Linked DNA regions of Homo sapiens: region 1 is linked to region 2. The links are contacts of gene promoters, found by promoter capture Hi-C in blood cells and fetal thymus (Javierre and others, 2016). All regions are on one chromosome and are shown on one strand. Each heading gives the region's core, a stretch centred on a gene start or on the middle of the fragment in contact. The rest is flanking DNA. Distances are from core to core; before and after follow the strand shown.

Region 1 (6,877 bases), core at 904-3,403, 360 kb after region 2:
CCTCCAAAACTCATGTTGAAACTTAATCCCCAAAGTGGCAGTATTGAAAGTTGGGGCCATTAAGAGGTGATTGAATCATAAGGGCTCTGCCCTCATGAATGAATTATTAATCCATTGATAGGTTAATGGATTATCAGGGATGGGGAACTAGTGGCTTTATAAGAAGAGGAAAGACCTGAGTTAGCATGTTAGCATGCTCAGCCCCCTCACCATGTGATGCCCCGTGCTGCCTCAAGACTCTGCAGAGAGTCCCCACCAGCAAGAAGGCCCTCACCAGATGCAGCCCCTCAACCTTGGACTTCTCAGCCTCCAGAACTTCAAGAAATAAATTTCCTTCTTTATAAATTACCCAACTTCAAGAAATAAATTTCCTTCTTTATAAATTACCCAGCTTCAAGTATTCTAAGCAACAGGAAACAGACTAGTGCAATGATTTTCACATTTCTACTTGAAGTGACTAATAGCAACATATTTCAATGTTTTTGTCTTTCAAAAATAATTATGTTTTATAATTCCTAGTGACACTTCCCTCTCTTCAAGTCTCATTTAAGAAAACTGAAAAGTATTCAGGTTCTCAAAGTCAATTGGTAATAAATGGAATTTGCAGGGTTTTTTTCTTTGCTGCTGCCTCTGAGCATGGCTTCAGCAGTGCCACATCATGAATCCAGCAATGTATAGCAATGTATATTCACACATTCTTCTCATGTACTGTGCTAGGCTGTGGAGCTTAAGGCAACAGACAGCTTCTCGCTTTTTTTAGCTTTCCAGGCAAGAGCCCAAAACAACTTGTTAAAATAGGTGTTTTAAGAAAGTTAGAAATGAAAGAACTATAACCATGATAGAATGCTTTGAAATGTATTCTATCCCAGTAGTCCCTCCTCTAGAATACCAGACTGTCCTTGCAAATGATAAGCTGGAACTTTATTGTCCAAATTCAGGGGGCTGCAAGGGTGAGTGTTCTCTAATACTCCACTGGCATCAGCTTAAATGTTGATGAATGTGGATCTGATTCAAACAGCCCAGGGAAGCAACTCTTGTAAAAATTTCTAAGACCTTATGCCGGGCTACCTCATTCCTTCTGTGTCTCTTCTTTAAGCACTTCTTTCACTTGGCTTCCAGGATAGCTCTCTGGCCTGCTTTATTCCCACCTCTCTGACCTCCTGCCTCACCTCTTTTGCTGGGTCCTCTCCATTTGCTCACACTCTGAACGTTGCAGTGCATTAGGGTTAGTCCTTGGCATCTTTTTTCCCCTTCCCATACTCACTTTTTAGGTTATCTCATTTATTCTCACCACCCTCACTTGCTAAGCAGTCTCATTCATTCTCATGGCTTCAAATGCCATCTATATGTTAATGACTCCCAAATGTAGAATTCTGAACTCAAGCTTAATGCTTCCACAACTGAGTTTCTATTATTGCTTCCACCCCCAGTCTGCTCCTTTTATTGTCTTCTCCATCTCAATTGATGGCAACCTCAACTTCCCAGTGGCTCAGGCCAGAAACCTTGGAGTCATCTTTGACACCTCTCTTCCTTTCACATTCTGCATCAGCAAATGTGATTGTCTCTGCCTCAAAATGTAGCTGAGGGTAGGGTATGGTGGCTCACGCCTGTAATCCCAGCACTTTGGGAGGCCGAGGCGGGCAGATCACTTGAGGTTAGGAGTTTGAGACAAGCCTGGCCAACATGGTGAAACTCTATCTCTACTACAAATACAAAAATTAGCCGGGCATGGAGGTGGGCACTTGTGGTTTCAGCTACTTGCAAGGCTGAGGCAGGAGAGTCACTTGAACCCAGAAGGCAGAGGTTGTAGTCAGCTGAGATCATGCACTGCACTCCAGCCTGGGTAACAGAGCAAGACTCCATATTAAAAGAAAAAAAATCTAACCAGAATTTGACTTACCCAGTACTGCCACATTATACAATTCCAAGAGGCCCCTCTGACATTAAACATATAGTAAGTGATACCTCTGGAAGCTCTGGATTTGTGAGTCTCACCACCTCCACTATCACCATCTTAGTTCAACCATCATCATCTCTTGCCTCATTGTGCAACAGCCTCACAACTTGTATATTAACTTCCTCCTTCCCTATTCAGTGTATCCTCAACATAATGCCATCAAGATTCTGTTAAAGCACAAGTCCTATCATATCACTTCTCTCCTCAAAACTTCCCAATGGATTCTCAATTCAGAGTAAAAGCAAACATTTTACAGTGACCTCTAAGACCCTACTTGATATGGTTGTCTGTCACCAACCTGATCTCATCTTCTACGAGTACTCTGCCCTTCCCTCACTCCATCCTTGGCGTACTGAACACTTCGCTATTCATCAAACATGCCAGGAACCGCAGGGTCTTTGCAGTTTCTGTTCACGTTGCCTGGAATGATCTTACCCCAGATTTCTCTCTCTTTGTTAGGTCTTTATTCTAATGTCACCTTCTGAATGAGGCCAGCCCTGGCCACCCTATCTAAAATTTTAGTCATTCTCCCCTGTACTTCCTATGCTCTTCCCTGCTTTATATGTTCTCATTAGCACATTTCACTACCTAAAGCAGTGGGAAGATACAGCATCATCCTCCAGAATGCAGTAAACACTCTCCACCTAATGAATTTGATATGGTGCTGTGTCCCCAGTAGGCAGAATACACAGGTCCTGGAATCAAGGGGTGGAAGGAGAAATGACCCTGTTTATGCTCATTCCCAGTGATCCACTTGCAGAATTTGTGGATATGCCCATGATACTGTGATGTCATTAAATAGCTAAGACGTGCTTTTACAAAAGAAGTTTAGATTTGATTTTGCGAAGCATTTTCACCCGTTAAAATCACAAGTGACCTGTATGGAGGTGGATTTGTTCATAATCACATTGGATATTGTCTCTGGACAGTTCTTTCCAATCCCAATACTCCCACCTGGTGGCCATAAAAGCTTAGATGCTGAATAAAGAGTTCAGATCAGGCTGATAGTGTGTTCCCCAAATTCAGGCTGCAGAGTCCTCTGGTCACAAGCCCTTAACCTTGGATTCAAGGGCCCAAGGCTGGGGGCTAATAGGCAACACCATGGGCTGTGGGTGCAAAGTGTGAAAAGAAAGGGAGTTGTAGGGAAAATGATGCCGGCATAATAGCACCTTCCTCAGAGCTGTGGTCAGGCTTCAGTGAGCTAAATTCACATCAACATAGGGCCTGCCATGTGGTAGACATCTAATATAATTACACACTTTTATTATCATTAATCCAAGATGAATGGGCGTGCCAGTGGACACAATCAAAAGACTACCCAAGAACCTGTTTTTAAGGAGAATTGTGATGTTTGAGCACAGATCTGAGAGGTGAGATGAATATCCAAAGGCAGATTCCCTCTTCTAGTACAGATGTTTCACGTAAGAAAATAAACAGGCTGGGTGTGGTGGTGCACGCCTATAATCCCAGCACTTTGGGAGGCTGAGGCAGGTGGATCATGAGGTCAGGAGATCAAGACCATGCTGGCTTACATGGTGAAACCCCATCTCTACTAAAAATACAAAAAATTAGCTAGATGTGGTGGCACACATCTGTAGTAGTCCCAGCTACTTGGGAGGCTGAGGCAGGAGAATCGCTTGAACCCGGGAGGTGGAGGCTGCAGTGAGCCGAGATCGCGCCACTGCACTCCAACCTGGGCAACAGAGCGAGACTCGTCTCAAAAAAAAAAAAAAAAAAAAGGAAAAAAAAAATCAGTGAGGCTATGAAGTTAATGCAATTTAACAAATATGGAGAGCAGCTCAGATCTTGTTATACGTCATAAAATTCCTACAAGAGAAAGAATCCAGTTTGGATTATAGCTTTGAAAAAAATGTATCATAATTCAGAGACTCTCTACACAGAAGAAAACGTGTAAGTATAATGAATGTGAAAAACATTTCAATTCCGTCTCACCCTTTACTGTCCATCACAGAACACACGCTGGAGAAGGCAGATGTGCGGTGACCCCAGAAACATCCTCGCCAGGGCTCTGCTTTGCCTCATGTCAGCAGCCTTGCTGGGCAGAAACCTCACACACATAATGAATGTGGAACCCTCCAGGCCCCATGAACATCAGAGGGCTCGCGCTGGAAATATTTAGATCCTGGCATTGCTTCTCTCTCCTCTCAACTACTCAGATGCTCGTTATCTCTGTGTTCATAGATTTTTGGCTCTTGATTATGTTTTAGTTAGGTCAAAAAGTCTGCTGACATTGATCAAATCCTACTACTACTACTAACTTTTAATGGTTCATCTGAGCCTACTGAATATAGTCAGAACTCTCCAAAATGTCTCTGTGTGCATTCTGAAATTCTGAGCAGGAGGCTGAAGGACCTCAGGGCATGGGGTGTGTTTTCATCTTTCATTCCAAGAGAAGTCTGTGACTTTGCAAGATTAAAGAGGATGTGAGAAGTAACCAGCCGGCTTTCTTTATGGATAGGGGTGAATTTGGATTTCTGGAACAGTGGACTCTTGTGGAGGCTGGACTATTTTTGCATAAGCTGGAAAGAATACATTCGGCAGAAAAGTGCCAACCTGACATTTGCAGGGAAGGAAAAAATGCCCAGATACAACTGTACACATATGAAGAATACCAGGAATCACATGGGAAGAACAATAGCATAGGAGCAGACTAATAAGTCTTGGCAGAAACAAGGAAGTGGATTAGGAACAATACCATGACTTCAGATATCTATATAGATTATCAAAGTAAAGGTTAATTCATAATACATCTAATGAATTTAAAATTTTAGCAAAAGGAGAGGAATACTGTGTCAAACAAAAGAAGATATTGTGAAATGGGACAAAAAAGTAAGAATGCAGTGATGAAGACTACTTTACCTAGCAGAAACACTAGGTAACATGATCAGTAACTATACATCACATATGGTCACATATGTTCAAGGTGTTTCTCAAGTATTATTATCTGCCTTTTCAGATGGGGAAACTGAGGCACAGAGAGGCAGTCACGTGATCAATCTAGGATTTAAATGCAACAGCCTGGCTCCAGTATCTAAGCACTGCCTCTCTAATAGAGTAGAGCTAGCCAACAGAGAGTGAGAGAAATTCATATACTAGAGAATGGAATCAATCATTGTGAGATCATTTCAGTTGCAAATAAAATGAGAGAAAAAAAGTGAAATTCATGTAAGACAGGCATCCTGGGCAGGCATTAGATAAAATAATGCAGTTTAATTCAGAGAAATAGCTGGCACAGAGACAAAATGTAGTACTGATTGATTATTTCAGCTGTTAGAAAATCTGTTGTCCAAATGTCCTCCCTTCCTCTGTGTGGGTTCTGAGAAGCCACAGCTGGTGAAGGCAGTTTTGCGTCAAAGCTGCAAGGAATGTGGAGGAATCATGGAGAACAGGGTGAGAACCACAAGTTTAGGGGCTGGCTGGCAAATGGTCCTCTTTTCAAAAAGCAGACAGAGTGGGCTGGGGTGAGGAGAGGAGTCTGGAAATTATGAAAGAACAAGTTTAATGTCAATCCATATCAAAATTCTATGTTTAAAAATAGAGTCTGTGAGCATTTAGAAGTGCAGCCATCTGAAAACCACTAAGTCGTACTTTGTATTTTGTAGGAGTGGAGATCAAATTCCAAATGTAGGCCAATCATTTCCAGTTTCTTCACAGTAGATAAGACTGGCTAAAATCTACTGTGCCCACCAGGTTAGAAAGTACACCAGCTATCTCAGCATGGCTGTTTGTGTTGGCAATAAGGAATCTGGAATCAGTGACTTGCTGTCACTGACCAGACACCCAGTGAGCCCAGAGTAAAATTCTGATTTACAGCCTATTTCTATTCATCACCATGTTGGCCTAGACCGTATGACAAGGCTTCTAACTCACTTTTTTTGCCTAGCTCTCTAATTCCAGTTTGTCCTAGAGGCTTATCCTTTGCTCTAGTCCACTAGGTTCAGCTTCCTTTAGTCCTGGCCTCTGACCCAATGTAAATGGACTGATTATCCAGATGTACAATGCTACCCACTGCCTGGATACCTACTCTCAGGCTTCACCACATAAGTCTGCCTAAAATGTACACTAATTCAACACCTGTCTTTGAACACTGCATATGGTGGAGGCAGTCCGACTCAGACTTCCAGGGCCCCATCTTCATAAGGGTTCACAGCTTTCTCTGTCTCCCTGCAAGGCATCATCCATTGCCTTCCTGCAATATAAACTGATTCTCTTGGGCCGTAATAAGAAATGCCATAAGCATAGTAAAAAGTAGTTTTCCCCTGGTATCTGACAAAACTTCGTGATTTTCTATTGACAAGATGGGGAGATGTGGTGTGGATGATAGAACAGTTAGGTGGATTGATATCTAGCTGAAAACTAAACTCGAAGTGTCTTGAGAAATGAATCCACGTCAAACAGCCTAGAAGGAAGTATGGGCATGTTCTAAGCCTATATCTGACCCAAACTTAAACAATGATTTTGCCAGAAACCAGATAAAGACATAAAAGGCAAAAAAGTTAGCCAAGTTTCCTACGACAACAGCCTAAGAGAGTTAATATGTGGGATAACTGTATGAAGAAATTTTTATCATTTCCTTATTTGTCAACTATATGTCAATAAAGCAAAAAAATAATAAGTAAGGTTAGAAATCTAAGATTTTAACATCTCTTTACAAGTTGGAAAGTTGAGGTTTAATTAAAATCAACCAACCAACAACAAAAATAAAAACACCCTGACTATAAAAAAAAAAAAAAAGAAAAGAAAAAAGGAAAATACAAGCTGGGCCCAGAGCATCTTGTAAGAAAGTAAAGAGTGCTCACAAAAAGAAAGGGTGGAATACATAAAAGAAATGCAGGAGCCAACCCCAAAGAGCTCACCGCCCGCATACAAACAACCATCATCTTTCCCCTGGATTGTGGC
Region 2 (7,356 bases), core at 4,243-6,742:
TGGGCAGAGGAACAAGATACCATGAGAGAATGAGAGATGCTGGTAATATATTCATGTGTAAGTGCCAAGTCTTCAGATCAGGTGAAAGACCATGGCTTATGATATTGATTAGATACTATTTCAGAACCATCAGCAAAGAAGTGAGAGTCATGACTATAGCCTCTATGCAGAAATTGATGATGAAAGAAAAGAGGTTGCATGCTAAGCTTCAGTGGACACTTACTCGCAAAATAAGAGAAAGATTGAGAACTCTCAAAAGGCAGAAAATACAGAGATAGGGACATAAAGGAAACAAAGAGGCAAAAAAAGACTAGTTCATGGAAACTTAGAGAAGAGAGTGGTGTTCTGCAGCACTGGTCACAAGCAAAATCAGTTCTGTATTTAGCTGGAAGAAACAGAACATGTTCAGTGAGTGAATTTGGAGGAGCATTTGGACATTGTGAAGAAAAAGATAAAAAGGAGGAAAAAACAAAACAAAATGAGGAGGAACAGGCTGCAGATAAGGACAGGTAAATTTGGTGGCCCTAAGGAGGCAATGGACAAATCCACTTCTGCAGTCTAGCCCAGTAAATCAGAGAAGAGAACAGAGACAAAACTTTCCTAAAGGAAAGGGCCATGGCAGAGCAACTCCACCCTCATATGAGTAACAAAAAACTCATAAACATGTGCCATTTATAATATTTGGGTGCAGAGAATCGCCACTTCTGCTAGCTCCATGTTGGAAGGAGTCCTGGGGAGTAGAGAGTGAGTCAACTGGTAGATCAAAGGTAAGCCAATAAGGCAATGATGGTAAGGTGGATGAAAGGAATTGAATGTCAGCTTGCCTCCATGCTGGGCACACTTAGATGCTGTGGATCAGCTGTATCTCTTTCCAACTTTAGTGTAATTCATGTAAAAACATGTTTGTGGCTACACTTTGCCTCACCTATTATTCATGGTCCCAGCAGTGTACAAAAGAAAACTCAATGTCTTTGCTCAGTGGTGTGCTGGGAAAGCAACTGTTTGATTTCTGGGTTTGTTTTTTTTTTTTTTCACTTTTTTAAAAAACAGGCCTAACTAGTAAGTGCTGATTTCCATGATGTGAATACTCCCACCACAACCAGTTTTAAGATAACAACATGATGTCCCTGAAAGGGGACCTGAGTAGAGTTGTGCACACTGGGCTCTGTAAGGCAGTGTGGCTGGCTCCAAAGAGACAAGTGTAACTGGTTTGGGCTGGGGCTGGCGCAGGCCATTTTCAAAAGCCCTTCAGGAGATTCTCTGTGTAGCCAGGTCTAAGAGCCATTACTACTTCAAGTAGTACTTAACAAACTTTTTTTTTTCCTTATAAAGACCTGAGCTGACTTCTCTAGTGCTTATCAAACTTTAATGTGCACGTGAAACAATTGAGAACCTTGTTAAAAAGCAGGTTTTGACTCAATAGGTGCTGCTGGTCCCCAGCAAGAAAGAGGAATGGACTGAAAGAAGAATAAAACAGTCATTCACAGTCTTAGCATTGTCAGAAATATTTGAGAGACAGGCAATGTAGAGATGTGACAAACTGGAAGTCCATGAATTATTTCTGACCAAGCCATAGAGATGTTTTCTTTTACCTGATTGCATTTTACTTTTTGTATTTGACTTAGAAGTCAGCATCATAAAAATCTGTATTCCCAGCTTTTCAGAAGGAGAGGTGGGGAAGCAAGAACAACAACAAAAGAAGATGTGACAATCCTGGGCACCACTCCAGCATGCTGCAATCCTGCCCCCTTTAGAGGAGACAGTCTTCCTTTTGTCGCCGTTGCTTCCTGGTGATCTTCATTGCTTTGTTTGTGTTTCCTACCTCACCCCTGAAGGAATTTGAGGGGTATTCATATTTTAGGTTTTTACATAACTATATATATATATATTTTTTTTTTTTTCCTCCCCAGTTGCACTACTTTTCTGTCTCATTTCCTGCCATTCCCCACATATAACCTGTGCATTCTTGCAATGCCTTGCACGGTATTCTTGGAACACACCATCTTCTTTCTTCCCTCCAACTTGGCACTGACCCCTATTCCTAGAACACACTCCATCCTCTGCTGGAAAGAGTCTAAATTATTCTCTGAATTATTCTTCCAGACCCAGCTTGAACATCACATCCTTCAGGAAGCCTTCCTGACTCTTCTGTGCTCGTAGAGCAAAGTGGATCCTTTTTCTATCAAATCCTGTTTTTGCTCATTTTGGGGCCATCTCCTATTCTCTGAGGTCCTGAAGGGCACAGATAGACTTTACTCACTTTTGTACTCTCAAGGTAGAACACTTTTCCAGATAGGAGATCCTCAATAGCTTTGTAAAATAATAAATTATGAATTAATTTTTGGCTCTTAGATTACATTCTCTTGAACTTTGGTTAATTTATCAAGGAAATTTTGCCATGATTATCCTGTCCTATAATGCGCAAGTTAATTCTATTTTCATATTGATCTCTAGCCCCTCTGCATGCTCTCACCTCTCCCTCGCACTTCAATTTTGGTATTATTTACTCAATTTATAAGATCATTATTTATTCTATAAATCTGGTCCCAGATAAACATAGGCCACCTCCAATTAAACACCCCTTAATAGAATTAATACCTTATACTTTCATGGCATGACCAATATTTTTCAAAGCACTTTTACTAACACACTTTATTCTCACACTAACCCTATAAAATAAATGAGCAATATATTACTCTCCTTCAGTATTTAGAAGCTAAAGTGAAATGTTCTCCATGAAGTAAGAAGCAGGGAGAAAAGAAAACTTGAGAAAAACCTTGGCAGTGCCCAAATAAGCCCTGAGGATGGAAGATGCACCATATGGCCTTTCTTGGCCATGATTCCCCAACATGAACTGGAGCTAAAGATCTGGCTCACTGCACTTTTTTTTTTTTTTTTTTTTTTTGAGACGGAGTCTTGCTCTGTCACCCAGGTTGGAGTGCAGTAGCGTGATCTCGGCTCACTACAACCTCTGCCTCCCGGGGTCAAGCCAAGTCTCCTGCCTCAACCTCCTGAGCAGCTGGGACTATAGGTGCGTGCCACGATGCCCGGCTAATTTTTTGTTGTTGTTTGTATTTTTAGTAGAGACGGGGTTTCACCGTGTTAGCCAGAATGGTCTCGATCTCATGACCTCGTGATCCGCCCGCCTCGGCCTCCCAAAGTGTTGGGATTACAGGCGTGAGCCACCACGCCTGGCCAGACTCACTGCACTTTCAAACTTCTCTAATCCCTAATATTTTACTGAAAAATTGAGACCCAGACATACTAAATTAACATGTATTACAGCCAAAATAGTAATCCAGTTCTTTTGATCCCCACCATAAAATCCCACTTTGCATAATTATTTTCACCTTTACAAATGGAGCTATAATCATCCCCAGCACAAAGAAGCCTCATAAATCTGCTTTCACAAACATTTAGAAATGAAAACTCATGTGCTTTTCCCCAAAAACCAAGTTCCGTATGATGATCAAAAAATACCCCATTAATTTTATGGAGTTAGTTGCACTGAGCAACTTTAAAATGCCCAAATACAATTACTGCATCAGAGTGCATAAGAAAGTCTCTAATCCATAAATCAAGGTCTTACTTTCCACATTGTGTATTACTTTCAAGTCAATGCTCTGTACTCAATGTTTAATGCTTTTTTGAAAATATTTACATTATAGATTGATAAGAATCAAGGACTTTAACATTCTGACTGACTAACAGCAAACTCAGTTTAAGCTAATGAGAAAAAAAGCAATGCTCACGATCTCAAATTGGTAATGGTAGGATGAAACACCCTCCATGAGTTTAAGAGAATTAGTAATGGGATAGAAATAGCAGAGATTGAAGGCATAATGATCTATTTCTCTTACATTTCTAACCATTTTGATGTGGCCACAAGAATACACCCAACCGTGAAAAAGGGGAGGCCCATGGTGCACCTTAAGCACTGGTGAGAATACAACACACTACTGCTCCTGGGTTTACACCAGGGCATTCTCCAGCTGTGTTCTTGGAAAAGCTGGATCATCTCAAGAAATATATCTTTTTTTCCAACCTCCACACACTGCTCCCAACTCAGTGACTCCACCTCTCCTCTGTCATTTTTTTTCCCCCATTATACGGAAGGAGGAGAATGTTATCTCTTCTTTTATAATAGGAGGGCATCAGTTTTCTGTGTTCCTTCTTCCTGCATGACACTTAATACAGTTTTTAAAAGGACTAGTTCAATATATTTTTTCTGCACATGAATTATATTTGTTTTATGCTCATAGGTACAAGAAGCTGTCTGCAAGCAACTGGGAAGTGAGGCTGGAGGGTGGGGGAATGAGGAAATGAGATTTTTAACTTTGGTTTAATTATTTGAAATATTTTTATCTCACTTTTAGTAAGAAAACTAGGGGAGAAAAACCTGGTAATGACGGGAAAGGGAGCTGAAATAAGTGGCGAGGGGTGCGACTTCCTGCCTCACTGCTCGGGACCTTTCCGAAGCTTTTCCCCAACCTATGTCTCTAAGCCACAAGGAGGAAGCACTGGAGGGGAATCAGAGGCGGCCAAAAGAACTTATGTCCAGGTGAACACAGGTGGCGAAGTTCTAAGAAAGAGCACCGGATTCATTTGACAGAGAAGTGTAAGGAAGAGACAGACGAGAGAGAGACAGACAGACGAGAGAGGAGAGAGAGAGAGAGAGAGAGAGAGAGAGAGAGAGAGAGAGAGAGAGAGAGAGAGAGAGAGATCCCCTGAAAGGCAGAGGGTTAAGAGAGAAGGAGCGAAGGAGCGGGGCGCGACTCTTACCCCCCAGCCAGTTGTCGGAAATGTTCTGGAGCATGGTGACGGGAATGCAGAAGAAGGTGATGAGCAGGTCACTGAGCGCCAAGGAGCAGATAAAGATGTTGGTGACGGTGCGCATGGCCTTGCTGCGGGTCACCACGTAGAACACCAGAGCATTGCCAAAGAGCGCCAGGGCGAAGATGAGCACGCCGGTGAGCACGAGGGCCAGCTTGGCGCGTCCCGGCAGCTCTGGGGTGTAGACGAGCGGTCGCAGCCGGTACAGAGCGATGAACTGCTCCCGCGTCAGGTTGTGGTCCCGCAGCAGCCGAGAGAACTGCTCCGGGGTAATGTTAAGCGCCTGCATTGCTGTGCGCTCCCGGGACGCGGGGCCACCGCCCGCTACTGGCTGGCCATCCGCATCTGCGGGGCAGCGAGGGCTTCGGGGGACCAGCCGGAGGCCGCCTCCCTTCCTCTACTCTGGAGTCAGCCGCGCGGGAGGGCTCTAGGCTGCACCCCGGGAGGTTCGGGAAAGGAGAGCAGCTCAGGGATCAAACCCACGATAAAGAGGCGGGAAGCCAAAGCACTGGGAGACTCGATCTCAGTGACCAAAAAATGTTCGCGGTTCAAATAAAGTTCTTCCCTTGCTCTTCCCTAAGGCGAGGCGCCGCCACGGTCTGGGGTGCTGGAGCGCCACGCGAGGGTCCTGGCGCCTCTGGCTCCCCGCCTTCTGGCCATGCGATGCGGACGCCGGACCCGCTTGGGGAGCGGTGGAGGGTGGGGCTGAACTCGGTGACGCCTCCCTCACACCCAGCTTCAGTGGCGCCAACGCCGCTTCCCCGCACCCTCAGGGCGAGGGAAGACTTCCCTGGCTCACCAACTTGCTGCCGCCCAGCGCCTTTCTCAGGGCATGGCCCCAGTCAGGTAATGCTTGTATGTGAAACTGGGTATTGGGGGGTTCCACAGTTTCAAGTTTCTCCTCTTGCGTAATAATGGGAGCCACAACTACCCAAGGCAAATAGGGCTTATTTTAAATTATTTTCTGTATTGAAAAATAATTAAGATAGTTAAAATATAGAACTTGGGAAATGGCAAAGATAATACAGAAAGATCCTGCGTACCCACCCTTCACCCAGTTTCTTTCATTCATTACATCTTATTTAACTACGGAACAATACAAAACCAGGAATTTGACACAGGTACAGTGTTTGCATGTTTTTATCTCAAGTGTAGATTCCCGTAACCGTCAGGATACAAACTCTTCTATCACCACAAAAATCTCCCTGGTGCTTTTTATACTCACACCTAGCCCCTCCCTCCACCATCTCTAACTCCTGGCAACCACTAATATGTTCTCTCTTAACTTTTGTCAGAACATTACGTAAGGGAAATCATACAATATGCTGCCTTTTGATATTGAATTTTCTTCGCTCAGCCTAATGCCCTTTAAATCCATCCAAGTTGTTGCATGTATTAATGGCTGTTTCTTTTTATTGCTGAGGCTGTATCACCGTTTATTTAACCATCCACCTCTTGTAGAACATTTTGGTTGATTACCATTTTGAGCTATTAAAAATAAAGCTGCTATAAAGAATCATGTACAGGTTTTTGTGTGAACATAGTTTTCCTTTCTATAGGAAATGCCAAAAGTTTTGATTATTGAATCTGTAATGTGTATATTTAATTTTTAAAGAGATTGACTACTTTTCAGAGTGGCTGTACAAGTCTCCATCTCTACCATCAATGCATGAGAAGTTACGTTTCTCCACATCCTTGCCAGCATTTGGTTTTGCTGCTTTTTTTTTTTAAGCTATTCTAATAGATCTGTAGTGATATCTCTTTAGGGCCTTAATTTACATTTACCTAATGGCAAGTAATATTGAACATCTCATGTGCTTATTTGCCGTCCTTGAATCTTCTTTGGTGAAATGTCTTTCCATGTGTTTTGTCCGTTTCTAATTGCATGGTTTAGTTTATTTGCTGTTGAAAGTTCTTTTTATATTCTACATACAAGTCCTTTGTTAGTAAACGGTTTGCAAATATGTTCTTCCAGTCTGTAGCTTGTTATTTATCTTCTTAACAGGGACTTTCACAGAACAGCTTTTAGTTTTAGTGAAGTCATATTTATCAATATTTTCTTTTATAGATAGCTTTTAGTGTTCAGTCTAACTTCACCAAAGCCTATTTCTCAAAAACTTTCTCTTAGGTATTTTTCTAAAAGTGTTATAGTTTTACATTTTATGTTTTGGGCTCTCTATTCTGTTGAATTGATCTATGTGTCTATCCTCCACATTCTTGACTACTGTAGCTATATAATAAGTTTTGAAATCAGGTAGCATGATTTCTCATACTTCATTCTTATTTTTCAAAATTATTGTAACTATTCTAGGACCTGTGCCTATTCATATACATTTTACAATCAACTTGTCTATGTCTACAAAAAACCTTGCTGGGATTTTGATAGAAATTGACATATTTACTAGGTTGAGTTTTTCAATCCATGAGAAGAATGTCTTTCCATAAATTTACATCTTTGATTTATTTCAAAGGCATTTTACAGTTTTCAGCATGTAAGTCCTGTACATATTTTTAGATTTGCAC

What was found. The method cuts DNA at HindIII sites, captures the fragments that hold promoters and counts their contacts. A CHiCAGO score of 5 or more calls a contact.
Region 1: a contact is called between a fragment that was not itself captured here and the fragment with the promoter of QRFPR in region 2, in 2 of 17 cell types (M1 macrophages and M2 macrophages). The highest score is 7.2, in M1 macrophages.

What each region holds. Positions count from the first base shown.
Region 1 is chr4:121,734,018-121,740,894 of GRCh38, forward strand. No RefSeq gene overlaps it. Among named protein-coding and RNA genes, the nearest start is that of PP12613, 27 kb to the right of the region's middle. The HindIII fragment of the contact is 1,543 bases long and covers 1,383-2,925 here.
Region 2 is chr4:121,375,526-121,382,881 of GRCh38, forward strand. It overlaps QRFPR (pyroglutamylated RFamide peptide receptor), which reads right to left and starts at 5,493. Exons shown (of 6, transcript NM_198179.3): 1 at 4,783-5,493. The coding sequence starts at 5,122. RefSeq lists an enhancer at 5,279-6,063. The HindIII fragment of the contact is 7,115 bases long and covers 4,478-7,356 here.